Regions from separate parts of the Homo sapiens genome. Here regions 1 and 3 are each linked to region 2. The links are contacts of gene promoters, found by promoter capture Hi-C in human tissues and cell types (Jung and others, 2019). All regions are on one chromosome and are shown on one strand. Each heading gives the region's core, a stretch centred on a gene start or on the middle of the fragment in contact. The rest is flanking DNA. Distances are from core to core; before and after follow the strand shown.

What was found. The method cuts DNA at HindIII sites, captures the fragments that hold promoters and counts their contacts. A contact is called where the count stands out against the background at its distance.
Region 1: a contact is called between a fragment that was not itself captured here and the fragment with the promoter of PIK3R5 in region 2, in 2 of the 25 tissues and cell types used here (heart left ventricle and mesendoderm cells).
Region 3: a fragment that was not itself captured here is called in contact with the fragment with the promoter of PIK3R5 in region 2 in 1 of the 25 tissues and cell types used here (IMR-90 fibroblasts).

What each region holds. Positions count from the first base shown.
Region 1 is chr17:9,555,826-9,560,046 of GRCh38, forward strand. STX8 (syntaxin 8) reads right to left here. Exons shown (of 8, transcript NM_004853.3): 3 at 1,609-1,703. Among named protein-coding and RNA genes, the nearest start is that of STX8, 18 kb to the right of the region's middle. The HindIII fragment of the contact is 6,164 bases long and covers 1-4,221 here.
Region 2 is chr17:8,964,167-8,967,990 of GRCh38, forward strand. PIK3R5 (phosphoinositide-3-kinase regulatory subunit 5) reads right to left here and starts at 1,541. Exons shown (of 19, transcript NM_001142633.3): 1 at 1,430-1,541. It overlaps PIK3R5-DT (PIK3R5 divergent transcript), which reads left to right and starts at 1,681. Exons shown (of 3, transcript NR_184080.1): 1 at 1,681-1,837; 2 at 2,601-3,675. RefSeq lists silencers at 1,465-1,784, 1,855-1,954. The HindIII fragment of the contact is 11,271 bases long and covers 1-3,824 here.
Region 3 is chr17:9,580,343-9,584,537 of GRCh38, forward strand. The region is part of intron 1 of CFAP52 (cilia and flagella associated protein 52); the gene reads left to right. Among named protein-coding and RNA genes, the nearest start is that of CFAP52, 5.8 kb to the left of the region's middle. The HindIII fragment of the contact is 5,237 bases long and covers 1-3,869 here.

The DNA of each region.
Region 1 (4,221 bases), core at 1,064-3,563, 590 kb after region 2:
GCAGAGCTTGCAGTGAGCTGAGATCGCACCGCTGCACTCCAGCCTGGGCAACAGAGCAAGACTCCGTCTCAAAAAAAAAAAAAAAAATTAGCTGGGCACAATGGTGCAGTGAGTATATTAGGACTTGTTGATTTGGGTAAAATAAAAACCCTTTATATGATAGACCAACTGTGCTGTAACAAATTACACCAGATGGAAGGTAAAGTATCTCAGAATATTCCAATTGCGTTAAAAATAAGGCTGTAATTGTTTGAAATTAAACTTTTATTTGAAACCTTAGTGGATCCGTAATTGAATGTCTAGAAAACCATGCAACTAAGCCAACTTTCCTGGTGATATAAAGGTGTTACAATGGGGGAAAATATTTTTTAGAACACTTTCCATTTTTTTATCTAAAAAGCTGTATTCCTGTATTTCCTTATATTTAAAATCTGGCAATATCCATTCCCTGAAATACCAAAAATTGGGTCTTTGGCATGACCTACTGACAATTTAGAGAAATGATGAGAGAAGACCAGTTTCAGGTAAGTTTTCAAACCAATATACACTTGGGTGTAAAAAGTTAGTGTAGGTAACAAGTCACGTATATTTTCCTAAATTGATCAGATTATGAATTTCTCTTTTTTTATTATTTGAGACAGGGTCACACTCTGTTGCCCAAGCTGGAGTGCTTTGGCACGATCTCGGCTCACTGCAACCTCCGCCTCCCAGGTTCAAGTGATTCTCCTGCCTCAACCTCCTGAGTAGCTGGGAGTACAGGCGTGCACCACCACGCCCAGCTAATTTTTATATTTTCAGTAGAGATGGGGTTTCACCATGTTGACCAGGCTGGTCTCGAACTCCTGGCCTCAAGTGCTTGGCCTCCCAAAGTGCTGGGATTATAGGCGTGAACCATTGCACCTGGCCCAGATTATGAATTTCTAAAATATATATATATATATATATATATATATATATATATATATATATACACATACATATATATATATATATATTTTAACACTTGGTAGGAGGTTAAGATGATGGCATAACTTGCTTCAAGAAGTCCCATCCCACCCCTTCCCCTCACACTCCCATACTAGAGGCAGTGTCTGTGCCTCTGGAGGAAAAATAAGGCACATCTCAAATCTACATAAACACGGGGCAGGTGGTGAGAGGAGAGATGTATGGTTTCTACTGGTATTGCCCACTCCGAAAATAAATGGATCATTAAAAACTCTGGAAACTCCCAGAAGCGGAATCACAGCTTAGGATGATCATGGAAGTTTTCCTGTTGGAGCAGTAGCTAGCCATGGTCAAGGCGGTCTAGACAGAGAGCAGTGTGGGGCTCCGTAAATACCGCACTGACGGAAAACATTAGCTTCCTGAACTGTACAGGTTATACCCAAATAAGTTAATTCCCTCGGTAGGTCTTGCTTTGCCAGCATATTCACTGTAAAACATGTAACAGACACTTAAAATAGAAATCAAGATTACAGGCAATATTTTGGAAACCAGGTCTTCCTCAAGCTGTGGGAAAATCTGGGTGGCCCAGATTCCTTCCTTTCTTAAAATACGACTGCTTTTCCTCCCACTCTAGAAAAGAGGTGGAAATGTTTACATGGATACATCTGATGTGTTGACACAGCTCTTAGCAATAAGTCCTTCAAAAGGGCGATCTTTTCCTTCAGGTTCTGCAACAAAGCTCTGATTGTCACGGTAAGCTGAAAAGAAAAGAACACATCCTAAGTATTCTAGTCCAGAATGTAGAATCCACAAAATTACATCACGTAAACACTACTTCACGGGCTATGATGCAACCAAGCAAGGGCTGGAAGAGATAGATACTCAGCCCCTCACGACAAACTCAGGGCTGGAAGGAGGCTCAGTGGTGCCCTGGCCCAGCTGCCAACCTACAGCTTGTACCCGCTCCACAACCTGGCCAAGTGGTGAGCCAAGCCAGACTGGAACCCCGATACTGACTAGAAACTGTCAGTGTGCTCTCACCATCAGCTGAATCCTGTCACCTGAGCTTCTACCCCATTGATCCTATGTATCTACCTTGGAACCACGCAGGAAATTGTGTTCCCCGAGTCTTCATTTGAGAGCAAAAACCCACAGTTCTCTGAACCAGGCTTCAAACGACAAAGCATGGAGTCCCATTACCATCCCCACCAGGCTCTCTGAACAACTGGTAAAATTTATAACCCAATGAAACGTTTTACGGCAATGTGTTCTTTTTATGCAAGAGGAATGCTAACCACACATGACTCTTTTCCCAGGAGGGTGCGCATTTTCTCCAATCATCCTACAGGAAATTTTTGTCCGTGACTCTAACCTGTTACATTAAAGGATGGAGAAGAGGGCGAGAAGAGAGTCTCTCAGGAATTTGGAAATGTGAAAAAACTGCCTGTGTAAGTTAAAACATATTCAACCACGGATGAAATCAGACATATGTTAAAAACACAGAATACCACAGGTTTCCTTTGCTACCTTGTCAAAAGCAGCAATTATATAACTCAAGCGGACTCCCTCCTTGGATTTGCAGAATCACACCAAGGAAAACCAGCCAGTGTGTCAGAGACTGGCCCAGACTGCACACATCCAGCAGCCCTCCAAGGCACCAGCAGCCAAGAAAAGTCTAACCTGAACTATCCCCATACCCCTGGGAACCAAGGAACAATCACCTACAATGTTGTGGGGAAACACCAAGGAAAGCAGATCTCTCTACACTCAAAGAGAAAAGAGCGGCCGGGCGCGGTGGCTCACGCCTGTAATCCCAGCACTTTGGGAGGCCGAGGAGGGTGGATCACAAGGTCAGGAGATCCAGACGACGGTGAAACCCCGTCTCTACTAAAAATACAAAAAATTAGCTGGGCGCGGTGGCGGGCGCCTGTAGTCCCAGCTACGCGGGAGGCTGAGGCAGGAGAACGGCGTGAACCCTGGAGGCGGAGCTTGCAGTGAGCCGAGATCGCGCCACTGCACTCCAGCCTGGGCGACAGAGCGAGACTCCGTCTCAAAAAAAAAAAAAAGATAAAAGGGCAAAACAAGCAAACAAAAAGGCGCCACACACACCAGGCCTACGAAGAGGAGTCCACAAAATCAAAGACAAAAGCATTTGGGAGATGAAAGACGGAGTATGTAGCCATTAAAAATTATGGCTCAAATCTCTATTTGTTCACATAGAAAGATATCCATCACAGCTTATGAAAAAAACATCAAGTCATAAAATAAAATATCACCCAAACAGAGAAAAAACAACCCAGGAACTAAATACAAACATTGAAACCATGAAAGCACCATGGTTCTATCTAAGTAGTGGGATTTTCTAATATTTTATAAGAAAATGATCACTTTTGTAATCAGGAAAAAATGTCATTATCATAATTAAAGACACTTTCTAGAGCACAAAAAAAGATGGAAAGCCTAATTCACATTTTAAGCTACCATAACCTGGGTAACAAGCACTGACAGAGATAACCACATGTCAATCTTACTTAGGAATTATAAATGTAAAAATCTTTTCAAAAAATATTAGCAAAGCAAATTCAGAATTACATTAAAAAGGACCATATACTATCAACAAGTAGAAATTATTCTAGTAATTTAAGAACAGTTTGATGTTAGAAAAATCTAGTAATAAAGCTCATGGTGTTAATAATTAAAAACAGAATAAACATATGATTAGTACAGTACAGGGGAAATTATAAACAAAAGAAACACAAAAAAGAAAGAAAAACTAAGAATAGAACACTACTGCCTTAACTACAATATTATTTAACTTTGCTCTAGAAGTTCTAACCAATACAATAAGAAAAATTAAAGAAAAATACAAGGACTACAAGGAAAGATGAGATTATTATTATTTGCAGATTGATAATAGTCTACTTGGAAGAGTTAAGAGAATCAACTGAAAGATTATTATTATTTTATATATATATATATATATATATATATTTTTTTTTTTTTTTTTTTTGAGACAGAGTCTTGCTCTGTTGCCCAGGCTGGAGTGCAATGGAGTGATCTCAGCTCACTACAACCTCCGCCTCCCGTTTTAAGCGAGTCTCCTGCCTCAGCCTCCTGAGTAGCTGGGACTACAGGCACCCACCACCATGCCCAGCTAATTTTTGTATTTTTAGTAGAGACAGAGTTTCACCATATTGGTCAGGCTGGTCTCGAACTCCTGACCTCAGGTGATCCACCCACCTCAGCCTCCCAAAATGCTGGGATTACAGGCATGAG
Region 2 (3,824 bases), core at 291-2,790:
GATCGCTTGAGCTCAAGGAATTTGGGACCAACCTGGGCAACATGGCAAAACCCTGCCTCTACAAAAAATACAAAAATTAGCTGGGCGCCGTGGTGCTGACCTGTAATCCCAGCTACTTGGGAGGCGGAGGCGGAGGATTGCTTGAGCCTGGGAATTTAAGGCTGCAGTGAGCCATGATCACGCCACTGCACTCCAGCCTGAGTGACAGAGCAAGACCCTGTCTCAATAATAATAATAATAATAATTCCACACAGCTCTATGGGTCAGTATGACAGCCCATTTTATGAATCAGGAGACTGAGGCTGGGTTGGGGGACAGTGTGATGCTGCAGGTCACACAGCTGGATCCGGTTGGAACTTGGGTCTCTTTTCCACATCATGCATGGTTCCCAAGCAACGGCTTCAGCATCATCACTTAAGGAGCTCATTCAAAGTTTTGAAAACTACAGATTCCAGATCCCATCCCTGGAAAGCCACGTTGTAGGGTTGGCTCCAAGAGAGCCCTACCTGCAGTCAGCTCTGGGAGCCAGTGCCTTACAGGTGGTCCTGAGGGCAGGAAGGAAAGTGTGGGGTGGATGAGAAGACACAGAAGGAAAACGAGGGTGTCAGTCCAGAGAGGACCTTGGAGGCAGGCTTGGCCTACTTTTAGCCCTTATTCTGCCTAAACCCACCCCTCCTCTCTACTCCGAGTCTTGTTAACTCGCTTTATACCACATCCTGCTGCTTTAACCTCGCCTTCCTTTTCCTTCTGAACAATCTCCTTCCTCCTACTGACCTGAACTTTTTGTGTATTTACCCCAGGCCGGGATGGGCCAGCACGCGCACATGCGCATGCCCACACACACACACACACACACACACACACGAGTCACGCGGGGATGTCCAGTGTGTAAACACAGATCCTCTGAGAGCAGAAAGCGTGCAGTTCTCTAGGACAGCAGCCGCGTCTGGGCCCAAGGCTGGCTAACTAGCAGGCTGAGTGAGGCTCGACGGAGGGCGCCTTACGCGGGCACTTCCATGACTCCCAGGTTCTGACGGCACAAGAGCCCTGATGCCCACGCTCACGGACAGTTCCCCGCTGGAGCGGGCAGGGGACCTGACCCTACGACACAGGGCGTCCTGTGTCAGAGGCAGGAGGCTGAGGACACAGCTGCGCAGAGCCGCCCAGCAGAGGTTACCCGGATAACGATAAGTGGTCCCCGCGACGCCCCTTAAGTCTCTGGGGTTATCTGGAGCGCAGGTTTGCAGACCCGCTGCCCCCGCGGTGGGCCAGGTCCACGGGGCCGGAAGATAGCAGGATCTGTCCAGCCCTCGGGCTGCGGCGGCTGCTCGCGGAGCCCACTCTCCCCGACGGTCCCCAGCTTGCTCCAGCTCTGCCTGGAGCTCCCATGCGTGCCCTCCGCATCCGCCCTGGCCGCCCAGTCACACACCTGCAGTCCCCGCCGGGCGCCGAGCCCCTCTCCAGCGGCGACTCCCTGCGATTCGGGTGACCGTCGGGACCACCGCGCCCCAGCTGGAGCCGCGCGGCGAGCCGCAGCATCTGCCCAGCCTGGGCTCCTCCGGCGGGCGGGGCGGAGCCTGTCAGGGGGCGGGGCCTAATGGGGCGGGGCTGACCGCGGAGCCGGCCTCTCCAGCCACCTGGCGGCCCGGCAGCGTCAGCCAGGTGCGCGCCCGGCCCCACATCCTCTGGGTCACGCCCCCGAGGCCGCAAGGCGTCTGAGAAGCAGCCCCGGCTCTGACCCGCCAGCCCTCGGAAGAAGCAGACCCTGGCCGGTCCATGGCAGTGGCCCGAGGGGCACCAGCGCGGAGCACCAGCGACCCCCAAGGAGTAAGGGGAGGTTAGGCCCCCGCGTCGGAAGCGCGGCTTTGGCCCCGCAGGAGGGCTGGGCGGAGCAGGGGGGCAGGTCTGGGGTAGGGGCTTAGGGGAAAGACGAGAAAGAGGAAGCTCCGACGAGCTGCTTCCTTCTCTCACTGCGACCCACTTCCTCTTCCTACTTCTATTTTCTTTCTTTTTTTTTTTTTTTTTTTTGAGATGGAGTCTCGCTCTGTCGCCAGGCTGGAGTGCAGTGGCACGATCTTGACTCCCCACAACCTCCGCCTCCCGGGTTCAAGCGATTCTCCTGCCTCAGCCTCCCGGGTAGCTGGGACTACAGGCGCGCGCCACCACGCCCAATTTTTTGTATTTTTACTAGAGACGGGGTTTCACCATGTTGGCCAGGATGGTCTCGATCTCTTGACCTCGTGATCCGCCCGCCTCGGCTTCCCAAAGTGCTGGGATTACAGGCGTGAGCCACTGCGCCCGGCCCCTACTTCTATTTTCTTTGGGTGCCCTTAACCCTTAAAATGCCTGCACTACTGCTGTGCAGACGGGCACCTTGACCCGCATCCTTCTGCAGGAACCTTCATAGAAATACCAGCCAGTCCCGGCGTTCAGCACTGCTGTTCCAGCCTCTGGCTGGACTTCCCGCCCTCCCTGGCCGGCACCAAGGCTACTGTCACCTGAGTGGTTTCCCCAGCCCCTGGGGAAGGGAGTGAGGGTGTGCGGGAGTTCCTGCCTCCAGGGTCAAGGCCCTCTTCTTGCCTCCCCCTTTTCTCCCCCAGACGACGTTGCAGATGATGCTCTACCAAGAGTTGGAAGGACTCCCCAGGGAATCCCACAAGACACTGCGCTTCCTATGCCTCCTTTCCCTCGTTTAAAAAATGGGGATAAGAAGGTTGGCTACTGCTCCGACAGCCCTCACAATGGAAGAGTAGCACTTCATTTGTGGGTTAACAAAGGGCAACGCTGAAATCTCCACTTCCACTATTGAATGGAACTGTGTCATAATATCTGTTAGAGGCGTGCAAACTCGGCCACAAGGTCATGGTCATACGTTATTGTTGGTCAAAAGCCGCAGCCCTACCTGAGGCTTTGAGAGATATGAACACCAATGACTTTTCTTTTCCTGACTCCCGAAATACCAAGAAAAAGCAACTTCCCCAAATGGACAGAAACAGAAAGTACCCTTGGTTGAACACAGAGGCCTGGTTCCAGCCATCGTTAGACGTGGGAAGGAACTCAGACCCCCTCTCCTACCTCATCCCCAACCCCTTCCCCACACGTCACCCTTTCACAGAGAAGGAACCAGAGCCACCAAGGGCTGAGAGAGGACTTGATAAGGATTCCAGTCTTCTGTCTCCCCTGTCCCCACTTTTTCCACCACAAAAATATGGACATTTGGAAGAAGAGGAGAAGAGGGAAGGTACACACTGTGCAAAGGAAGAAAATGGCAGAAATGCTCTGGAATCAGGAATTCAGGAGCAAGAATGACACTGTGTGCCAGATGGAAATGTTGGATTAGGAGAGCACTTGGAAAGGCAAATAATCTGCCAGAGAAATTATGGGATGCCTGCCTTCTGAAAATGGAGGAAAACTGCAAAAGAGTGGCTCATTGGTGCTCACTCCTAGGGCTCTGAGCATCCCAAGAAGCCAACTTGGTCCCATCGTACATCCCCTCAGAAGTAGGCATTCTCCTCTCCACCTACAGCTGTGGCCCAGATGTGGAGCCTGCATGTTATGCCACGCCGTCAACACTGAGTTCTGTCTGCGTCTCCCTGTCACAGATCTGATCAGCACCTGACACCTATCCATTCTCCATTTCCCACCTCCCCAAAGCTGCTGGAAAAACTCTGAAAGGTACCTCTGTCACTCATTAAGCATCTGATTATGTACCTCTTTCTACAACTCCTTTGTTGCTTTGTTTTAAAATCTATGGCTCTTTGAAATCACTCTCCTTCCTTTCACTGCCTAATGTTTTCAAAGAGGAGTCTACCCCTGCCTCCACT
Region 3 (4,195 bases), core at 1-2,500, 620 kb after region 2:
CCTGTAAATAGGTAAATAAATATAAATGGCTATTAGCTCAAAAAGCTTAAAAATGCTATTAAAGTTCATGTGCGGTGGCTCACACCTGTAATCCCAGCACTTTGGGAGGTTGAGGCAGGAAGATTCCTTGAGGCCAGGAGTTTGAGACCAGCCTGGGCAACATGGTGAAACCCTATCTCTATAAAAAATACCAAAAAATAGCCAGGCATGGCGATGCATGCCTGTAGTCCCAGCTATTCGAGAGGCTGAGGTGGGAGGATCACCTGAGCCCGGGAGGTAGAGGCTGCAGTGAGCCATCACTGTACCACTGCACTCCTGCCTGGGCAACAGAGTGAGACCTGGTCTCAAAAAAAAAAAAAAAATGCTGTTAAAGCAGTGATGGTTTTTGCTTCTCAAACTGGCAAAGGCAAAAAAAGAAAAAAAAAGGGTAATATAATAAGGTGAGAATAAGAAATGGTTCTCAATTACTACTGCCGGTATTAATTTTACAACCTTGTTGAAGGCCAGTTTTATAGTATCTATTACAATTCTTAATGAAGATAATCTTTGAGCTTTTAAGAACTTGAATCACTTATTCAAGTTTTCAAAAAATTTACGTGCAATGAAGTTCACTGTGATATTGTCTATAATAGCTGAAACATTGGAAGAAACAACCCAAATATCCATTGGTAAGAAGTTTTAAAAAACTACGTGGCCAGGCGTGGTGGCTCACGCCTGTAATCCCAGCACTTTGGAAGGCCCAGGCGGGTGGATCACGAGGTCAGGAGATGGAAACCATCCTGGCTAACACGGTGAAACCCCGTCTCTACTAAAAATACCAAAAAATTAGCCGGGCGCGGTGGCGGGCACCTGTAGTCCCAGCTACTCGGGAGGCTGAGGCAGGAGAATGGCGTGAACCCGGAAGTGCTGGTTGCACAGCATTGTGAATGCACTAAATGCCACTGAATTGTTCACGTTAAAACAGTTAATTTTATGTTATGTGAATTTCACTCCAATAATTTTTAAAATTATATTCCTTTTGTGCAATTTGATACTGTACAATCCTTAAGAAAAATGGAATAGATGTATATAAACTAATGAGGAAAGATGTCAAAGATATATTAAGTATAAAATGCAATTTGCCATACAGTGTATATGATATGAGCCTATTACAGTTTAAAGTGTACATATGTTTGAGAGAGAGAGAGGGGATAGAGAGAGAGGAGAGGGAGGGAGGGACAGAGGGAGACAGAGAGGGAGGGAAAGAAGGCGAGAGAGAGAGAAAATGGAGTGTGTGTGAGTATGTCTGGAGAAGAGAGCAAAGAATATGAATTGTAGTGGACATGCGTAGTTTTGGTTACTCATATCTGAATACTATTCTATTTGAGAAGTATCCCAAGATAGGTAGGAGCTGGTTCTATTGCTTTAGTGAGAGCCTAAAAGAGGCACATATTTTCTCTCCTAATTCCTTGGCAGCCAATTGAGAGATGTAACATAATTGGCTCAGCCAATCAGACATTCCCACTCCGCAGTTCCACTCTTATAGGAGTGATGCAAAGGAGCATTGAGCGTTGAGCAGTGTGGCCATGAGAGGTCTTTAGTTCGTGTCACTTGGTCTCGCCTTGCTATTAGTTCTGCCCATTTTTCAAGTGTGACCCAAACTTCCTGCCAGTTGTGTGAGCAATATGTATTCCTTCCATATAATTCTTTTTCTGCTACATTTAGCCAGAGTTGACTCTTCTAGTTTGCAACCAAGAACCATAATTTTTAAATGCAAAAACAAAAATAAATCTGAAGAAATACACACCTGCATGTTACAAGGTTATCTCTGGGCAGGTTGCACACCTAAGAATAGAGTAGCTGGGTCCTGGGGCATGTGCGCATTCAAGCATCATCAATAAAGACACATTGTTTTCCAAAACGATTAGACCGATTTACTCTCCCACCAAGCATTTTATGAGTGTTGGCTTTGTTCCACATCAACACAGATGCCTGGTACTGTCAGCCATCTTAATTTTAGCCATTTTGGTGGATATGACATGGTATCTCATTTCGGACATAATTTACATTTTCCTGGTTACTTATGAGGTTGCATCTCTTTTTGTAGGTTTATTGGGTTTTGAATTTCCTTCAGCATAAACTGGCTATCCATATCCTTTGCTCATTTTTCTATTGAGAAGCATATGTTTTCCTTATTGCCTTGTAGGAGTTCTTCGTATATTATGGAGATGATCCTTTGTCTATTGTATACATTGAAAATATCTTCTTGTTTGTGTTTTTCTCTTCATCCTTCCAATAACAATGTCTTTAGTAATTAAATTTTTTGATTTTTTGAGAAAGAGTCTCACTCTGTCACCCAGGCTGGAGTGCAGTGGCACAATCTCAGCTCACTGCAACATCCACCTCCCAGGTTTAAGCGATTCTCCTGCCTCAGCCTCTCAAGTAGCTGGGATTATAGGTGTCCACCACTACGCCCAGCTAATTTTTGTATTTTTAGTAGAGACAGGGTTTCGCCATATTGGCTAGGCTGGTCTCAAACTCCCAGCCTCGAGTGATCTGCCTGCCTCGGCCTCCCAAAGTGCTGGGATTACAGGCATGAGCCACCCAGCCCAGCCTAGATGTTTTTCATTTTTCACATAACTGGGTAAATATTTCAGCCTTTTCTTTTATGATTTGCTCTTTTTGTGTCATAGTTGGAAAGTCATTTCTTACTTTTGTACACACTGTCTTGTTTTTCACATTTAGGTCTTTGATCTACCTGGAAGATATTGTTTGTGTAAGGTGTGAATTATGAATCTAAGTTTAATTTTTCCATATGGATAGCCATATGATTGTTTATAAAGAACCTGCAATTAGAAAACTATAAAAAATTTTTAGTAGGAATAGATCACCCTAAAGACATAAACCTTGGTATTATAAGAACATACTGCATAAAAAAGGAACACTCAATTAAAATGAAAAAAAATCATTTATTCAATAATTACATTTGGCCATTTGAGCAAAAATAATCCATTTAGCTACAGGAATCACATAAAGCACCAAAATAAATTCCAGAGGGAGTTAAATATAAAAGAAGCATTCATTTAAGAACAAGAAGATTATATTAATAAATATTTATGAGTCTTTCGATGGAGAAGGAGATAGCAACAAAAAAGTTTTTTAAAAACCCAAGAATAAATGTAATAAGAAATGAGTGAGATCTTTATGAAAAAAATGGAAAATGCTACTAGAAGGCATAAAAGGAGACTTATGAAGAAACATATCCTGTTTTTAAAATAGAGGTATTTTATATTATTATAAAAATCATTTTCCCTTAAGTTAATCTATACATTTAATACTATCTCACTAAAAACACAATCATGAATTTTAAATAGCCAAGGTGACATGCAAGTTTGTATTGTAAAATAAACACGAAGAGCAATCAAAAAAATTCTGACCATAGGTGAGCAATAATGGAGGACCTGGGTCTGTTTCATATTAAAACATATTACAAGGGTTTATAATTGTTGAGATGGTTCTTGGTATAACCAAAATCAAGTTTGGGCCACTTGTCACTTGAAAGCTAAAAACTCAAGAGATGAGCTTTGGTGAAAGGAAGGTTAGCTTTATTGGAGAAGCCAGCAACCCAGGGGAGACAATAAACTAGCGTTCAAAGACCACCTCACCGAGTTGAGTCTCTGAATCAGGGAAATTAGAGGAATAATGATCAAAGCATTTTTGTGAAACATGTGCAGTCTCAGGTAGGCAGTTAGTCAATATGTTGGGGCCTTCTGCAGATGCCATCTGCCCTGTTCTTACCAGGCTGGTCAGCCCATTCCCAGAGTTGTTGGTCATTGTATTTTCTTTTATTTTTGCTGAAGGTCCTGTTCTCCTGAAACTGTTTTTAGTGAATAAACTACCAACTCAAGCAAAACAATAATTACATTCAAGCATACAAACTTTTCTCTAACATGGAAGCAGTAGTGTTACCTTGGCAGATATTTGGAGTACGGGAGTTGCCTGTGGAAAGAGGTGTCACCATGAAAGGTCCCAGGCTCTTCAGAGCACCTGGTGGGCACTCAGAACTGAAACCGAAAGTTAAAAAAATTATTTTCCTGGTTATATTGAGGCATACTTGACATATTAAGGTTGTATCAATTTAAAGTGTATAACACAATGTGTTGATAGACATATACATTGTGAAATGATGTCTACGATCAAACTAATTAACATATTC